2 separate regions of the Homo sapiens genome follow, and region 1 is linked to region 2. The links are contacts of gene promoters, found by promoter capture Hi-C in human tissues and cell types (Jung and others, 2019). All regions are on one chromosome and are shown on one strand. The core of a region is centred on a gene start or on the middle of the fragment in contact, and the rest is flanking DNA. Distances in the headings are between cores, read along the strand shown. Region 1 overlaps PLA2G4C (phospholipase A2 group IVC). Region 2 holds the start of CABP5 (calcium binding protein 5).

Evidence for each region. Contacts are between HindIII fragments. The study calls those that stand out against the background at their distance.
Region 1: a fragment that was not itself captured here is called in contact with the fragment with the promoter of CABP5 in region 2 in 3 of the 25 tissues and cell types used here (H1 embryonic stem cells, aorta and hippocampus).

Annotation. Positions count from the first base shown.
Region 1 is chr19:48,081,553-48,084,477 of GRCh38, reverse strand. The region is part of intron 10 of PLA2G4C (phospholipase A2 group IVC); the gene reads left to right. Among named protein-coding and RNA genes, the nearest start is that of PLA2G4C-AS1, 22 kb to the right of the region's middle. The HindIII fragment of the contact is 3,491 bases long and covers 1-2,925 here.
Region 2 is chr19:48,042,716-48,045,415 of GRCh38, reverse strand. It overlaps CABP5 (calcium binding protein 5), which reads left to right and starts at 1,337. Exons shown (of 6, transcript NM_019855.5): 1 at 1,337-1,556. The coding sequence starts at 1,494. The HindIII fragment of the contact is 5,918 bases long and covers 1-2,700 here.

The DNA of each region.
Region 1 (2,925 bases), core at 276-2,775, 39 kb before region 2:
AACAGACAAGGAGACCTTGTGCCAAGAGGAGAAGCTCTTAAACCCAGGAGGCGGAGGTTGCAGTGAGCTGAGATCACACCATTGCACTCCAGCCTGGGCAACAAGATGCAAGCAGCCTGGCCCGGCGCAGTGGCTCATGCCTGTAATCCCAGCACTTTGGGAGGCCCAGGCGGACAGATCACTTGAGGTCAGGGGTTCGAGTGCAAGCTGGGTAACATGGTGAAAATGCGTCTCTACTAAAAATACAAAAATTAGCCAAGTATGGTGGTGCACGCCTGTGATCCCAGCTACTCAGGAGGTTGAGGCACAAGAATCGCTTGAAACCAGGAGGCAAAGGCTGCAGTGAGCTAAGATCACACCACTACAGTCCAGTCTGGGCAACAGAGCAAGACTCCATCACACACACACACACACACACACACACACACACACACACAAAATTGGCATTCGTTACCTGTTCATCATTTAACCCTTTGAATGACCTGAAGAAGTGGATGCTGTTGTCCCCTCCATTTTGCTGAGAGCCACCGGGTCATGGAAAGGATGCGTGACTCACCTATGTAACTGGTTGGTGAGTGCAGACACAGGGATCTATAGGGGAATCGTATGGTGGTTCTGATCCAAAGCCTGTCTGCCTGAATCCACATCCCAGCTCCACCTCTCATGCGTTAGTGACCCTAGAAAGCTGCTTAAATTCTCTGTGAAAAAAATTAAAAAATAAAGAAATGAGGGGCCGGGCGCAGTGGCTCACACCTGTAATCTCAGCACTTTGGGAGGCTGAGGTGGGCAGATCACCTGAGGTCAGGAGTTTGAGACCAGCCTGACCAACGTGGAGAAACCCCATCTCTACTAAAAATACAAAATTAGCCGGGCGTGGTGGTACATGCCTGTAATCCCAGCTACACGGGAAGCTGAGGCAGGAGAATCGCTTGAACCCAGGAGGTGGAGGTTGCAGTGAGCTGAGATCACACCATTGCACTCCAGCCTGGGCAACAAGAGTGAAACACAGTCTCAAAAAAAAAAAAAGAAAAAAGAAAAAGAAAAAGAAAAAAAAGAAATGAAACAAACAAAAAAAAAAAAAAAAAGAAAAGAAAATCAACAACAACAACAAAATTCTCTGTGACCCAATTTCTCCTTTGTAAAATGGATACAATAGTGCATAGCCCCAATCTTGTATATTTATATCAAATAAATGTAAATATACATCAAATATACAAGATTGGGACTATGTACTATTTGATGTGGGGTTTAAATGACCTCATGTATGTAAAGTACTTAGAGCAAAGCTTGACACATGGGAGTGTCCTCTTAAATGTCAATATTATTTTTATTATGTCTTGTATTGTTAGAAAAAGCAAGCCAGGGCCAGGCGCGGTGGCTCACGCCTGTAATCCCAGCACTTTGTGGGGGCCGAGGCGGGTGGATCACCAGGTCAGGAGATCGAGACCATCCTGGCTAACATGGTGAAACTCCGTCTCTACTAAAAAATACAAAAAATTAGCCGGGCGTAGTGGCGGGCGCCTGTAGTCCCAGCTACTCGGGAGGCTGAGGCAGGAGAATGGCGTGAACCTGGGAGGCAGAGTTTGCGGTGAGCCAAGATCGAGCCACTGCACTCCAGCCTGGGCGACAGAGCGAGACTCCGTCTCAAAAAAAAAAAAAAAAGAAAGAAAGAAAAAGCAAGCCGGGCACAGTGGCTCACGCCTGTAATCCCAGCACTTTGGGAGGTTGAGGTGGGTGGATCACTTGAGGTCAGGAGTCCGAGACCAGCCCAGCCAACATGGTGAAACCTCGTTTCTACTAAAAATATAAAAATTAACTGGGCATGGTGGCGGGCGCCTGTAACCCCAGCTACTCGGGAGGCTGAAGCAGGGGAATTGCTCGAACCCGGGAGGCAGGGGTTGCAGTGAGCCGAGATCGCACCACTATACTCCAGGCTGGGCAACAGATCGAGACTGTGTCTCAAAAAAAAAAAAAAAAAAAAGAAAGAAAGAAAGAAAAAGAAAAAAAAGCAGACAAAATTTATTTATTGACAATTCAAAAATTTGAAAAAGATGAAGCAGAAGCTTGACCTAACCGACGTGTATCAGGACTTAGCTTTCTATCGCATTTTCAGCACATGTGGAAAAATTGAATTTTGATTTGGTCTCAAGTAAAAAGTTATAACATGTACAATATTTTAATTATAAGGATCAACACTGCTACTATTAGGTAATAATATTTTTAAATATTAAGATTTTTTTGTTTTTTTTTGAATTTTTACTTCAATAGCTTTTGGGGTACAAGTGGTTTCTGTTACACGATGAATTATGTAGTAGTAAATTCTGAGACTGTAGTCCACCCATCAGTGTATGTTTTAGAGTATGTTGCATTCAATATGTAGTTTTTTGGTTTTGTTTTTTGTGACAGTCTCACTCTGTTGCCCAGGCTGGAGTGCAGTAGCAAGATCTCGTCTCACTGCAACCTCTGTATCCTGGGTTCAAGTGCTTCTCCTGCCTCAGCCTCCCTAGTAGGTGGAATTACAGGCACGTACCACCATGCCCGGCTAATTTTTATATTTTTAGTAGAGATGAGGTTTTGCCATGTTGGTCAGGCTGGTCTCGAACTTCTGAGCTCAAGCAATCTGCCCGCCTCAGCCTCCCAAAGTGCTGGGATTACAGGCATGAGCCACCACACCTGGCCCCAATGTGTAGTGTTTTTTTGTTTTTGTTCTTGTTTTTTGAGACGGAATTTCACTCTTGTTGCCCAGGCTGGAGTGCAATGGAGCGATCTCTGCTCACCGCAACCTCCACCTCCTGGGTTCAAGCCATTCTCCTGCCTCAACCTCCCGAGTAGCTGGGATTACAGGCATGCACCACCATGCCTGGCTAATTTTGTATTTTTTTAGTACAGACAGGGTTTCTCCATGTTGCTCAGACTGGTCTCGAA
Region 2 (2,700 bases), core at 88-2,587:
TAACTCCCTTTTCCAACAGTAGGAGACCTGGCCCCCATTCCCCTTACTCACTGTGTGTAGCCAATTTCCCTTTTCCTTTGCCATTTCACCCCTGTGGGGATGTCTTTCCCAGCCTAGTCTGGCTTCAACACCATACACCATGCTATTCCCATGAGTGGACATTTCTCTCTCTGCTTGGGTTATGACAACCCATGCCAGATCCCCTCTATGTGGCCTCCTTCCTAATTGCCTTACAGTGCAAACCTCCACCCCAGACAATGCCTGCATATAAATGCCCCCGCCCCACTCAGCTCATGTTCCAACACTGCACACCAAGCTGCCCATCTGTGGATTTATCCCCACCATCTCCAGCCCCAACACCCTGGGTCATGCTGCCCCTCTATGTGGACTTCTCCTCACCCCACTACCCCACTGGAATGCTGGCTCTCCACGCCAGATGGCCCCCAGCCCCCTCCTCCCCTAACCCTACCTAGTGTGGAGTCGCAAAACCCCTTTGGGCTTTGACACCACCATAACTTCACACCCTCCCTGACACCCCCACCTTGCTTTTTCCCTCTAAATCATTCAGGAAAGACAGAAGGAAAGAGATGAACAGAGGAAGAGCAAATGCCATGCTCTTAGTCACCGTGTACGCCCACTTCCTGAAGTCCATGCTTGCATCCTGCTCACTCTCACACATTCCCGACTCACCCAGGAAAACTCCCTGAGGCCAGGGGTGCTGAGCTCTCCATCTCACTGCCCAGAGGCCAGTGTTGGAGTGACCCTTCACATGCTTGTTGGAACATTGAATAAATGATGCCGTCTGCTCTAATCCTCCATTTTCTTTTCTTTTTTTTCTTTTTTTTTCTTTTTTTCGAGACAGGGTCTCACTATGTCAGCCAGGCTGGAGTACAATGGTGCAATCGTAGTTCACTGCAGCCTGGAGTGCAATGGTACAATCATAGCTCACTGCAGCCTTGAACTCCTGGGCTCAAGCAATCCTCCCATCTCTGCCTTTGGAGCAGCTGGGACTACAGGTGTGTGCCACCATGCACGGCTAATTTTTTTATTTTTTGTAAAGACAGCCTCTCCGTATGTTGCTCAGCTGGTCTCAAACTCCTGGGCTCAAGCAATCCTCCCACCTCAGCCTCCCAAAGCGCTGGGACTACAGACATGAGCACCACATCCAGCCTCTAATCCCCATTTATAAAATGCACTTTCCAATTCCACTCTGGGGATAAAGGCGTCACAGAACCTGACTCTGCATTTCCCCACCCATATCATTCAAGCCAGATGGGGAGGCAGGGACAGCTCTGGTCCCTCCCCAACCCGGGTAGAGATTTCCAGCCCAGCTGTCACAGCTCTAAGACACCGGGACCGAAGGAGAAGCCAAGAGAGGCAGGAAGAGGTGGCAAAGGAGTGCTGGAGAAGATAAGGAGGCTGAGCTCCGACAGGGAGCAGGGAGGAGGGGCCATCTTGAGACTGGTGCCCTGCGAGCTCCACCCCACCCCTCCATGCAGTTCCCCATGGGCCCCGCCTGCATCTTCTTGAGGAAAGGCATTGCTGAGAAACAGCGGGTGAGGTGGGGAGTGAGGGGGAAGGGCGGTGGGCGGGGCAAAGGGAGCAGGGGTGTGGGACAAAGAAGGGGACATGATGGTGCCACAGAACCAGGGGAACAGGTGGATAGAGCAGGAGCTGAGAAGGTATAAGAAATTCCAAGGACCCTGGTGGGGTCATGTAAGCCAGTGAGATAAATGGGTGGGGGTAAAATCAAAAGTCAGGAGCAAAGAGAAGGAGAGAAAAGGAAGAAAAATGAAAAGGGAAAGTGGGATGATGTCATTGTTGAGATTACCATCATTCTTTTCTATGGATGCTCATTGTGATAATGGTGGTGATGATGGTGGTGGTGGTGATGATAATGATGACGTTAATAACAATAGCTGCCACTTATTAAGTCATTGTTCTGTGCCCAGCCCTGTGCAAAGGGATTTGCACACCTGATGTTATTTACACCTCAGAACAACTCATGAGGTCAGTGACTTTCATTCCCATTTTACAGGTGAGGAAAGTGAAGCTCTGAGTCATGAAGTCATTTGCCTTAAGCTTACACAGTTAGTAAGTGGCAGGGTCGGCCAAGTATAGTGGCTCATGCCTGAATCGCAGCATCTTGGGAGGCAGAGGCGGGAGGATCACTTATGTCCAGGAGTTTGAGACCAGCCTGGGAAACACAAGACCCCATCTCTACTAAAAATACAAAAAAATAGCTCAGCATGGTGGCATGCATCTGCAGTCCCAGCTACTCAGGTGGCTGAGGCAGGAGGATCGCTTGAGCCCAGGAAGTGGAGGCTGCAGTGAGCCCTGATTATGCCACTGCACTCCAGCCTGGGCAACAAAGTGAGACTTTGTCTCGTTAAAAAAAAGTAAGTGGCAGGGTCGGGTTTGCTTGATTCCTGTGGGCATGCTTTTTAAAATTTTTTTATTTTTCCATATATACCAACTTGTCCAGATATGTGGGCATACTTTTCATTGTTAGGCTTTAAGATCACCAAAAAAAGAGAATAAAAAAGGCCAGGCAGTGGCTCACGCCTGTGATCCCAGCCCTTTGGGAGGCCAAAGCAGGTGGATCACGAGGTCAGGAGGTCAAGACCAGCCTGGCCAAGATGGTGAAACCCTGTCTCTATTAGAAATACAAAAATTAGCCGGGTGCAGTGGCAGGCGCCT